Regions from separate parts of the Homo sapiens genome. Here region 2 is linked to region 1. Evidence: promoter capture Hi-C in human tissues and cell types (Jung and others, 2019). All regions are on one chromosome and are shown on one strand. The core of a region is centred on a gene start or on the middle of the fragment in contact, and the rest is flanking DNA. Distances in the headings are between cores, read along the strand shown.

Region 1 (6,624 bases), core at 1,494-3,993:
AAGTATATAACTTAACTACATATCATTGTTTTCATCTTATAACCTTATTTCTTTTGTATTTGTCTCACAGTGTGTATTACAGTGTTTCCTAACTAAGGCCGTATATCACAATCACCTATGGAGCTTCCTAAAAAATACGAAGGCCTGGCCGGGCACAGTGGCACATGCCTGTAATCTCAGCACTTTGGGAGGCCGAGGCGGGCAAATCACAAGGTCAAGAGATGGAGATCATCCTGGCCAACATGGTGAAACCCCGCCTCTACTAAAAATACAAAAATTAGCTGGCCACGGTGGTGCGAACCTGTAGTCCCAGCTACTCGGGAGGCTAAGGCAGGAGAATCACTTGAACCTGGGAGGAGGACGTTGCAGTGGGCCCAGATCGTGTCACTGCACTCCAGCCTCGTGACAGAGGAAGACTCCATCTCAAAAACAAACAAACAAACAAACAAACAAAGGCCTTCAGCTACTTGGGAGGCTGAGGTGGGAGGATTTTTCTCAGTCCAGGAGATGGAGGCTGCAGTGAGCTATGATCACGCCATTGCACTCCAGCGCCTGCGTGACAGAGCGAGACCCTGTCTCAAAAAAAAAAAAAAAAAAAAGCAAAATACAAAGGCCTTGACCCGTGGGAGCTGGACATCTTAATTTCTAAAAAGCCTCACTGATGATTTTCATGAACACTCTTAAGCTGAGAAGCACTGATTTATTGCAGTGTTTTCCATATAGCAGACATTCAATGCTTATTAATTCATGGCATGGAAGCCCATAAATAACTTTTCTCTAAATAGCCTAACCAGATATCAACCCCTAGACTACACTAGCTCTGTTCCAAGTGCAACATGTGGTTTTAAGATTTCATTTCCTGAAGTACTACATGGAGAGACACTATTACCTTGTCTCTTTACATTGTTTCCTATTTGTTGAAAAATGGAGGCCTGGAATGCAGCCATGTTAGACAACACTACATAAGAATGTACTCTGGAGTGTTCTGTTCAAATTAGTTATAAAAAGAAGAACAATGTACAAGTAGACATTGTGAATGAATACAGCATTCTTACTGAATGAATAGATTCTTACTAAAGCTATAGAGAAGAAAGATCAGGAATTTGGTCGGTGGTGTCACCCTGTCTTCCTAGCTACCAGTCTCCTAAATTGCTTGAGACAGTCCAGGGACCCCTGAAGACTGAGGAAGACTTTCAGCTGCTAAAGAGCCTCTAAGTGCACTAAAGTGCTCAAATCAGAAAAGTAACCCAAGCCCCACCCAGACAGACCCACAGTTGCCGCCCAACTGCCCTGACACACACTATTTACACAGCTCAGTGGGGGAGCAGTATGAACTTTTTCCAAAATTGTTCCTCACAAGCAGGACCAGTCTGAGTCACCCACCCAGGGTGGGAAAGAAAAGTGTGACATTAGCCAGGGGAGTCTTGGGAGACTGGTCTCAGCACCTCTTTTTTCCCATTTCAGACGTGGGCTCCACCTCCTCCAGGAATCACCTCGGTTATGAGTCACAGCTGTGGGTTACAGGGGTCTGCAGAGCCACCAGGAAAGTTGTGGATGGGGAGCGGATGCCCCAGCCTTCTCTCCGGCAGGGGCGGCAGATCCCAGATTCCACAGGCCTCTCCCAACAGCTCCATCTTGCTTCCTGCCAGGAGGAGGGGCCAAGGAGGGCCCCCGAGTCTAGAAAGGCCCCAGTGGGAGGAGGCCGTTTGACAGCAGGTAACGCCAGGTGAAAATGTCCACAGGAGGGAATGAAAGGAAGGGCAGCAGGGCTGAGCGGAAGGAAAAACCGGGCTTGTGGTCACGAATGACTGCATAAAGGTGTGAGAGTGCCAGAGGAGTGAGCATAAGTAAAATGCCCAGGAGGGAGGAGGAGGCGACAGAGAGTGAGGCAAGTGAATAAAAGGGCGGAATACAGGGAGCTCTGGGGAGCGGGGGTGGGCGAGGCGGGTCTCAGGGTGAGGGGCAGAAGTATTAGAAAGGAGGACAACGTGGCTCAAATAAGGATCCCTAGAAGAGAAGGCAAGGGATCCGTGGGAAGGCCCGCTCTCCCTCCCCCGCACAGCCAGATCGAGGAGGCCTAAAAGGCGCTGAGAGCGAGGAAGTCAACGTGGGGGCGAAGCCTGCGCGGGGCAGGGACCCTCGGACATCCCAGCAACTCTCATTTATTGGGTGTCTGCTGTGGGCCACACGCCGCGCGAGGCACTCCACGAATAATACCTCGCCATATCTTCACGACAAGCCCGCAAGGCAGCCTTTTTCATGACTGCTCCCATTTTATAGATGAGGACACTGAGGCCCGGAGAGGCTCAGGACTCGCTCAAGGTCACAGGGCGGAGAAGAGGCCATTCGAACCCTCGGCGCCTGGCTCCGGAACCCACGCGGAAAGCCACGGCCAGCGAGCCGGCCACAGGCAGCCGCGACGCGGGCCGGGGCCCCGGGGATACCTCCCGCGCCCGCTCCCGCGCCAGGCCCTGCGCGCTCACCCGGACGAGGTTGCTGACGGCCGCCTGCACGGCGGCCACGGGCGCGGTGAGGTCAGGAATGGCTTTGCCGTCCACCTCGCCCTCCTCGTGCATTATCACCAGGTGGGAGATCTGCTGTGCCACCGGCTCCAGGATGCTCTCGATCGTGCGCGTATGAAACACTGGCATCGCGGCGGCGAGCGGGGCGGCGAACCGCGGGCGACAGAGAAGTAGGATCCACGGGGCCGGGAACCGGCGAAGAGACAGACTGTGCAGCGACTACGGAGTCGGGGCTTCCCTCGGCGTAACCAGCCTCACGGGCTCCCCGCCCCCTCTCGTCGCCGCGCCCAATGGCAGCGCAGCTCAGACCTGGGCCGCCACTCCTACTGGTCCCTTTTCGAGATGCTCCGCCCCAGCCACCGCGCCGCCAAACCCCGCCCCTCCCCCATTCCTAAGGGAGGGGCCTGGGATTGGGGCTGAGCCGCCGGGATTGCTACCGGATTCCCGAGCCCTAACGCCGGGCGCTCCTTATAAGGGCATGGTGGGAGCGGAGCGGGCCGCTGGAGCCGGCTGGTCCCGCCCCCGGGCCGCCTCCCGCCTCGGATCTGGGGGGCTCCGCCCCTCTGCAGAATCACCTCAGCGGGGCGGGGTCTCCTCACCTCAAGCGGCGCTAGAGTTTGATGAGACCAAGGGGTCTCCCACGTCCCCTCCTCAACTTTTCCCTTCACACGAAACCCTCAAAATACTCCTTCCATTCCCTCCCAGCAATGCATGGGAAGGTTTTTAGTAAAAGATTCAAACAGCAGAGGTGCACTGAGAAACAGCAGCGTCCCATTCACGTAAACGCAGACTCCGCCCCCTGCCCTCCTCAAAGACATTCTGTTTAACAGCTGGGTGTGTAGCCTTCTAGACTTGTCTATAGATTCACTTCTACATATATATTTTCTAACTAAATGAGATTAATAAACATTTTCCTGGAACTAGGTATGATTGCCCTTGATTAAAATGCCCTTATCTTTCACTGCTGGTAGAGGTCTACCTCATTCTTCTTAATGACTGCATGATATTCCATTGCATGAAATAAAACTATTTACAGAACCAATTTCCTACTCATGGACTTGGGTTGGGTCCTGGTTTTCACTATTAAAAAACAATTCTGCATGAATTGTACTTACCCCTGTGCTGTGCATCTGTGTATTTATCTAGCGCAAATGCCTACCAGGAAAGAGAAAAACGCAAAAGTATATGCATTTTATATTTTGATAGGTAAGACCAAATTATCCAGTTCCCTCACGCTTTGTATAAGACATCTTCCAGGCCGGGCGCGATGGCTCACGCCTGTAATCCCAGCACTTTGGGAGGCTGAGGCGGGCGGATCACGAGGTCAGGAGATCTAGGCCATCCTGTCTAACACGGTGAAACCCCGTATCTACTAAAAATACAAAAAAAATAGCCAGGCGTGGTGGCGGGCGCCTGTAGTCCCAGTTACTCATGAGGCTGAGGCAGGACAATGGCGTGAACCCGGGAGGCGGAGCTTGCAGTGAGCGGAGATCGCGCCACTACACTCCATCCTGGGCGACAGAGCAAGACTCTGTCTCAAAAAAAAAAAAAAAAAAAAAAAGACATCTTCCAAACGTCTTACTTACTTCAAATTCGCTTTTGCCCAAGCTTTCCCATTCTGAGGTAAACACTTTCAGTAATGCCTCCAAGCAAAAGATTCTCACATCAAATGAAAATTTTTGTCTAGTCCTACCACAACCACCACAGCTGTTTTCTCTGCCCATTACTTTGTGTTAATAGTATAAATATTTGGGTGATGGGGCCAGGCACGGTGGCTCACGCCTGTAATCCCAGCATTTTGGGAGGCTGAGGCAGGCAGATCACCTGAGGTCAGGGGTTCAAGACCAGCCTGGCCAACCTGGTGAAACCCCGTCTCAACTAAAAATACAAAAATTAGCCAGGTGTGGTGGCAGGTGCCTGTAATCCCAGCTAATCGGGAGGCTGAGACAGGAGACTTGCTTGAACCTGGGAGGTGGAGGTTGCAGTGAGCTGATACCGTGCCATTGCACTCTAGCCTGAGCAACAGAGTGAGACTCCCTGTCCAAAAAAAAAAAAGTTGAGTGATGGAACGATATGATTTTTTTATTTTAAAAATTATTTTATTTTATTTATTTTTATTTATGTTTTTATTTTTTGAGATAGGGTCTCACTCCGATTGTCCAGGCTGGAGTGCAGTGGTGTGATTTCGGCTCACTGCAGCCTTGACCTCCCCAGGCTCAGGTGATTCTCCCACCTCAGCATCCCAAGTAGCTGGGACCACAGGTGCATGCCACCACGCCCGGCTAATTTTTGTATTTTTGATAGAGACAAGGTTTCGCCATGTTGTCCAGGCTGATCTCAAACTCCTGGACTCAAGAAATCCACCTGCCTTGGCCTCCCAAAGTATAAATGGCCTCCCAAAGTATATATAGCCTCCCAAAAAGTGTATGATTTTGTTAAATCCTCACCCTGTCCCCACTTTGCTGATTGTATATTTATGTGTAGTTTAACTTGTTCTTCTGAACTATATATTTCCTACAGATTGGCAGGAAGACTCAGAGGCTTGATCATGTAATCATCTTTAATGCCTGACTGGCCATATTAACCTCCCAAAAAGAATATCACATTGCACATCCAGCCCATGTGCTCCCCAACATCCATAATCATACCCATTTCCGTCCCCCTGATTTCCACATTCACTGGCTCCCTCTAAAATCTTTCTTGGTGCCTGTTAGCATGTGTTAACACCAATGCCCTCCACAATCTGGGTCCAGACCAACCTTACTGCCTTCAGCTTCCCCACCTTAGACCCACAGACAGGCAGGTTAAACAGTGCAAACAGCATAAATTCAGAGCCATCCAGAGCTCAAGCCAGAACCCCAGCTTCACAACTTGATGGAGATATAACTCCGGCAAGTGGGATAATAGCACCGTCACAGAGCTGATGTAAGGGAATTTGTAAAGCACCTAGGAGACCTTCAGTAAAAGAAACCATTATCATTATTAGAGCAGTCACAAACTGACATATTCACAGTCTCCAGAAATTCCTGGTAGAGTTTCACTTTTGAGCTTTTCTCCACATTTCTTTCCCACCTAGAAAGCTATCAGTGCTTGTCTAACTCTTACCTATTGTGGTAGACAGAATTCTAAGATGTCCCCCGGGATTTCTCACTCCGAATATACACACTCTCCATAATCCCCAGGCTGTGACTATAAGGGATTTTACTTTCATAATCAGATTACATTATATAGCACAGTTGGTCTTAAAACAGGGAGATTATCCAAGTGGGCTTGACCTAATCACATGAGCTCTTTTAAAGCAGAGAGTTTTCTCTGGCCAGTTACAACAAATGAACTCAAAAGCACAAGAGGATTTGATGAGCTGTTGCTAGATTAAAGACGTGGGAGGCCATGGGTCAAGGTATGTGGGCAGCCCCTAGGAGCTGAGAGTGGCCCCTGACAGCTAGCAAGGAAACGGGGAAGTTGGTCGCACAGTTACAAGGAGCTGAACTCTACCAACAAGAAGAATGATCTTGGAAACAGATTTTTCCTCCAGCTGAGAGCTCCAGGGGACACCTTGTTTTCAGTCCAGTAGACACCTTTATTTCAGCTTTGCGACACTGAGCAGAGAACCCAGTCACACCATGCAGGACTTCTGACCTACACAGTTGTGAGATAATAAATGAGTGTTGTGGCCAGGCGCGGTGGCTCACACCTGTAATCCCAGCACTTTGGGAGGCTAAGGCGGGTGGATCATGAGGTCAAAAGATCGAGACCATCCTGGCCAACATGGTGAAACTCCGTCTCTACTAAAAATACAAAAATTAGCTGGGCATGGTGGTGCGTGCCTGTAGTCCCAGCTACTTGGGAGGCTGAGGCAGGAGAATCACTTGAACCCGGGAGGCAGAGGTTGCAGTGAGCTGAGATCATGCCACTGTACTCCAGCCTGGTGACAGAGCGAGACTCCGTCTCAAAAAATAGTAATAATAAGGCCGGGCGTGGTGGCTCACGCCTGTAATCCCAGCACTTTCGGAGGCCGAGGCGGGTGGATCACGAGGTCGAGAGATCGAGACCATCCTGGCTAACACGGTGAAACCCCGTCTCTACTAAAAATACAAAAAAT
Region 2 (6,624 bases), core at 1,821-4,320, 590 kb before region 1:
GGAAGGAAAAAATACTCACCTTTCCTTTCTTTTAATCTTTTCACTTCTTTCTTCTCATTCATGCTCCAAATTTAGAGTCAAAATTAAAGTTAGAAGGGATAAAATGCAGATTTTTGTCTAGTTTGTCACACTAGCCAAGAGTATTAATGCATTTTCACACAGAAAACTATTAAGATAAAGTGATTTATTTTTGTTTTATTCCTTAAGAATACCAAGTTTCAAACCTATGCTCTGCCATTTCTGTCTAATGACCTAGGAAACTTTAGTGACATTATAAAATCATTGAATTTCTCTAGATAGTGTTCCATACATGGATTACATTTGATTAAAAATATCTATTTGAGGGTACCCTACTCATGGTTCAAATATATTCTGCAATGCTTGTGATGGTTTTGGGAATCTACGAAGAGACACATCAAGACACTATGTGCTTTATTTAGTCTAACATATCACTGTCAATATCACTGACAGAGCAGTTTTGCTATGTCAGGAGGTAATAAGGTATGTGATTATAATCATTATCATTTTGCTTATATGCTGTAATCAATTATGGCAGATTTATGGCAAAAACAATTCAAGAATCAGTAAGTAAGAACTAATGGAAAGGTGAATATAGTGCTAGTTAATGGAAAATAGAAAAAGTAGTTTGTTGCTATGACTGAATGTAAACCAGGCACATGAAAAGCAAGTAGCTCAAGGGGGAAATAAAAGTATTAATCAGGCTTAATAAACTATTTTTTAAAAACTGCTATGTAGATACTACAGGATCATGATCATGTTATATAACAAATTATATTTCTAAGTATCTGCAAAATTGGTTATTTTATAGAACCAAAAATACATTTTTTATGGTAACACAGTAAACTGACAGGATACAAATGTATGTTCTGAAAGTTTTCTTCTATGGAGAATTCTGATGTATCAACAGATAATATAATTTTTGTAATATTAAAACTTAAAATCAGTAAAACTTTAAAAAATTCCTGAAAATTTTTATTTATATTCTCATGATCAAAACATTTGACTTTTTAATTGAATATTCCCATGATTACATTTTGTCCTACATATAATTGCCAGTTTGGGAAATTAAAATGTGAAACTTAAATTAGAAAAAAACCCACCACTTGGAAATCCTTTTTCTAAATGTGACTTAAACCTAGATTTACTATAATATGGTAAAGCATAAAAAAGCAAACTTGTAAGAAACTATCACAGCTCCTAATAATTGAGTACAAAGAAGCAAGTTTCCCTACTCTGGAGTAGTTCTTTTATAGGATCTTCAGAACAGAATATCTGTATCACATGTTCCTTGTCTTTCCTCTATGAAGAGGAAGCTCTATGTCTCGTTTGTCAAGTCTGATGACATGAATAACATGAACATGTATTACTTTGCTGCTTGATAATCTGCCTTTACTACATTTAAAAAGAGTTTCACAAACTCATATAATATCTTTCTCTAGAGTTCAAAGTGAGCTTACTAGTCCTTACTGATACTATTCAATCACCACTCACCTCTTCCCTGTTTGATAGACAATACTGAATATGCAAATAAAAAGAAAGTTCCTACATTTCGGCTGTGGTTAGATTAAATTTTTAAAAATTACTACCCTGTAACACTTTAAGTTGCTGTAAGAACACAGCATTCTACATAGTTCACTCAATAAATATCATAGTCATAAACAACTCCAACTTAGTTAATTCTCTGTCAGTTAACCTGGGTTCATATTAGTCAGTGTTTTCTAACAATCAGTTGGAAGAGGGGTATTATACAGATAAAAAACACGGTTATCTCAGTTTTGCCAACAACAACCACATGGAGTTTTGAATCTTGACAGGATAACACTTATATCAGAAAAACAGAATTAGGACCTAGAAATTAAATCCAATTATTGATATTTTATTTCAGAAAATGTATGTATATTTTATGCTACCTCCGTCTCCCCAGAAAAAAAGAGGGAGAGAGAAGAAAAGATAGGTTCAAAGAGTAAGTTTATAAAAGCAGGATTTAAATTAATCAGTTCCTAACAACTGTTAAGTACAACCTTTTAGAAATTAATTTGCATAATGATAATCTACATGTGATAGGGCTGAAATTATTTAAACGACATTATATTTCATTATTTAGTCTTGTTCCACCACTGCTTTAGCAGTGAATCCTTATGAAATGTAATGCAGCTAATGAGGTAGCTTTTTAACTGAACAAACTGACAGGCCCCATATCTGCAGAGGCAGCTTGAAACCGTGCCCAACCTCTTGGCTTCCCAAGAGGCTTTTCAAAATTCAATAAATAACATCTGTAGGCGATGTTGGGTGCAGACCTAGCAGAGTGCGTCATAACACTGTGCTGGCAGAACAAAGAAACCATGACGACTGCCAAGTTTCCATGGCAACTGCTGCGAGGCTCTGAGAGTATAATAGCACATCAATCACTGTCCAAAAGAACTTCATTATCAGCTAGAAAAAACCTTTAGGATCTGTTTAGTGTGCAATTGTGGGTTAACTCACCTCAAAGCCTTGCTCTCTAGCAAAAGTGGCAGCTTCCTGAAATAAAAAAAAAAAAGAACAGTTAATTATAAAGTGCTCGGTAATGAAGAAATAATCCATTTTTTGAAACTCATTCAGTCTTCTTCTTTACACAATTATCTCAATATACCCACATAGTTCAATTTTTATTCTTACAGCAATAAAGATTTCTTTTTTCCCTTGGAATAATAATAATAAAAAAAGGCAGCCTAATGTCAACACACTTCACAAGTTGGAATAAAGAAGATGTAGTACATGTTTTTACTGTAGCTGCCACAGTGAGTTCAGGTGTTCTGACCTCAGCAAAGAAAGACAATCCAAGGAATATGCTGGTGGTTGTGTTTTTAATTAAAACAATACCTCTCAAAAAGCTCTTATGTAGAGAAGAATGCCTGCTAATAAATGTATAAATTCAGAAAAATCATCTTTTTGCAATCCTCATAACGAAATTTATGCAGGCAAGGATCCTCAGTAGATGTTAAACTCATTGGGTAAAAAGGATGATAGGGAACTGGGTATTTCCATGGAATCAAAGTATCTCAGATTATATGCTGGTCACGGGAGCAAAGCATAACTTTATAATGGAAGGATCAAGCTGTCATCACTTTAACCCAGTGATCGATGCTATCACTTATCATCACTAATAGTGGGATCACCAAATATTCTTTGCCTTCTGTTGTGATGCAGTGTGAAGTTCACACCATCACCTATAAAGTATTCTAACCTAAATACTTTAATATGAATTAATCAAAACTTTAGTCCAGTAACTTGCAGTCTATAAGAAATACAGAGGATAGGGGAACAAGTTAAAGTATACACAGAGAAAGCAACTGAAAACATTCATAGGGTAGGACATTCTGTAGGACAACTAGCTTAATGTTTTTAACAAGTCAATGTAATGTAAAGTAGAAAAGGGAAAATGACCAAGAACAATGTATAAACCTTAATTGGTTTATACAAACCAGCTATAAAAGACATTTTTGGGACAAGGGGAGAAATTTGAATCTGAAATGAAAATTAGGTAATATTAGGAATTATCAGTTTGATTTTAAAAGTCCTTAATTCTTAAGATGAATCCTGAGGTATTTAGAAATGAAATGTCATGATATATGTAATTTATTTTAGAATACTGCAGAAAAAAATTAAAATGAAGCAAAAGTGGCAAAATGTTAACAAGTGTTAAATCTAGATGTATGTGCTATGTAGGGGTCCAATGTCTCCTTTTTTGTTTGAAATTTTTTATAATAAACAGTCCAAAAATCCTCTTTAATATAAGATGACAGGGTAAAAACAGTTGAGCATTAAAAATATGTATGGTTAAAAAATTTTAATATGCAAAGTTCTTCTAGATTTTAAATATCTTAAGGACACAATCTAATGATTATTATATACCCTAAGGCTCTTATAACAGGTTACTAAATGACAAAAATACATATGTGTAATCAAATCCTTTCCCTTTCTTCACTCTTTGTGCTTATACTTTAATTTTAGGACAGATAGAAAAGGGAGGCAATATTACTTTTCAACTCTACTTCCCTCTTGAAAATGAAAAAAAAAAAAAACTGCAGACAACTGTCAAGAGTCTCTACATCTTAACTCACATTCTTCCAAAATTATCTTTGCCAAGAGATATTAATAGAAGGATGGGATTTGAGCCTGAGTAGTGAGCAGATCCAACTCAACTAAAACGACTGTAGCATCAAGCCATGTAAGGCAGAAAGTACAGTCAGTGTCTTCAGCAGAAATTTGGGAAAACATTGGGAAAAAAATACATGTATGCACCTATGGTCCAATGTACTAATAACATATAGGTTAGAGAACCATTTTGAGGATTTAGAAAGGTCAAAATGTATGATTACAGCTAAACACTGAAGTCAACAGGAAGTGTTAAGTTGAAAGTACAACTCCTTACGCTATTTACTAGAGAAACATAAGCCTGACCAAGTTACCCTTAGTTCATGTAGACAAAAATAAGCAAATAAATATTGATCTTGACAACTGGTCAATTTGTGCAAGCAAGGTTAGAACTTTGTACATCACATAGTCAGTAACATTTGCTGGCGGTGATATCAAGGAATAGGAAAAGGTTCAAAAGCTATTGATGTAGTGCTTCCCAAGCTGTCACTCTGAACCAAGCAAATTCTTATATGAAAAAGACAACAAAAAAGCTATACTAGAACCACTTATTTATATGGAACTTCATCAGAGACATGAGAGAACCCCAGGGGACTGTAAGACAAAGTTCAAAGGAAGAATGTGTAGGACTAAAATTGCACTAAGCCATAAATGCTCAAAATTCACATACAGTAAAATTTTTTTAATGTCCAGTTTTGCTCAAATATAAGAAATTAACTGTAAAAAATTTATGTGTGTGTATATGTATATATATGTGTATATAAATATGTGTGTGTGTATATATATACATATATATTTTTTTTTTTTTTTGAGACAGAGCTTTGCTCTTGTAGCCCTGGCTGGAGTGCAGTGGTGCGATCTCAGCTCATTGCAACCTCCGCCTCCTGGGTTAAAGGTATTCTCCTGCCTCAGCCTCCCGAGTAGCTGGAACTACAGGTGTGTGCCACCATGCCCAGCTAATTTTGTATTTTTAGCAGAGATGGGGGTTTCACCATATTGATCAGGCTGGTCTCGAACTCCTGACCTCAGGTGATCCACCTGCCTTGGCCTTCCAAAGTTCTGGGATTACAGGTATGAGTTACTATGCCCAGCCCAAAAAAATTATTTTTAAAAATTAACTGTGATCTGTTATGGTATGGAGCTGACTAACTGCAAGAAGACACATATATAAATGTCAAATCATTATCTTTTAAGGAAACCAGGCCCTAGGACACTTCCATGTCTGTAAACTATTTCAAGCATCAACATATTTCTGACTGAGGAAAGATGTACTTAAAAAAAGTCAACTCAATTTTTTGTCTTAGTGCCCCCTCACACAGGTTTGCTGAGCTGTGCCCTATCACTAGAAAAGCTAAGCTTGTTGTTCTGTGGCTTAAAATGATCTTATCTTCTGACTTCCTCCCACCTTCCTCTGATCTTGGACTGGTGCCCCAAGTCACTCCATTAGAGAAGGCAGCTGGCTCATATCACTGCAGACTTTCCCACAGCTAACCTCTGATCTGAAGGTGTTTGTAGGTACAATGATGGAACAACATTTATTTTTCCCTGTCAGCAAAACAAACAAAACAACACGGGGGAACAGTTTGACCCAGTAAGAATTGTAAGCAGAATTTTAGTTGTCAGATTCATGACATGCAGAGGCAGAAAGAAAAGACATTAGGTCAGAAAGTAAGGAAGAAAGAATAGGCATAGTTGGTGGGCAGAAGAGCAAGACAGGTTCCAAATATCAGAGATAATTCCAAGTGAACTGATCGCACTAAATTGAAAAGGACTTTTTAGTGTGCCTTTGCAGTAAAAGTGAGAAAAGAAAACAAGCAAGTCCCCATCTGTGCTGCCCCAGGGCGCCTCGTACTGAGTTTCACAAATCTAATGAAGCAGTCAGGTTAAAATCCAACCACAGAGTGGATGTGACATGTGGAGAACAGCTCGGGTTAGAATAGAAAAGCAGGGCGGTTCCTAATGCAGGTGATTATCCGTGTGATAATCATTATATTTACAGGCTTTCCATTTTAGATCTGACATCAAAAATCACAAAGGAGGAGGGATTAAGGAAATAAACAACCGACACAGAGGCTTTCCTGCTCCCCTGAGAGTACAGCACTTTCATTCATGCATGACAAGCAACAAAAGCAAAACTAAACAGGCCAGGAAAGAGTATTTCTGAGAAGGCTGGATTTCACATTAACGCTTTTTTTCCATTTTGATAACTTTCACTATTACTCAGTTTCTCAGTCAGGTCACATTTTCAGAATCAGTTCTCATTGTTGTCTATGCTATAATACAGTATCATTTTTGGTTTACAATGAATGATACTCACATAATATGTCCTTTACAAAAACAGACCCATTTTTTCCTTCCTGGAATTGAGTGTTGTGAATAAAATGACATATAATTAAAGTCTTAGACTCTCATCTATACCACACCACTTAGGTTTTGCAGTAGGCTTGCTGCTTCAGCAACCAGGGT

What was found. Contacts are between HindIII fragments. The study calls those that stand out against the background at their distance.
Region 2: a contact is called between a fragment that was not itself captured here and the fragment with the promoter of VCL in region 1, in 1 of the 25 tissues and cell types used here (stomach).

The regions. Positions count from the first base shown.
Region 1 is chr10:73,994,235-74,000,858 of GRCh38, reverse strand. It overlaps VCL (vinculin), which reads right to left and starts at 2,743. Exons shown (of 22, transcript NM_014000.3): 1 at 2,484-2,743. The coding sequence starts at 2,651. RefSeq lists enhancers at 1,791-2,442, 2,515-2,714 and silencers at 2,395-2,444, 2,775-3,134. The HindIII fragment of the contact is 15,261 bases long and covers 1-6,624 here.
Region 2 is chr10:74,585,199-74,591,822 of GRCh38, reverse strand. It overlaps ADK (adenosine kinase), which reads right to left. Exons shown (of 11, transcript NM_006721.4): 8 at 2,506-2,541. LOC124902457 (a long non-coding RNA gene) reads right to left here and starts at 2,499. Exons shown (of 2, transcript XR_007062199.1): 1 at 20-2,499. RefSeq lists an enhancer at 6,130-6,299. The HindIII fragment of the contact is 8,050 bases long and covers 1-6,624 here.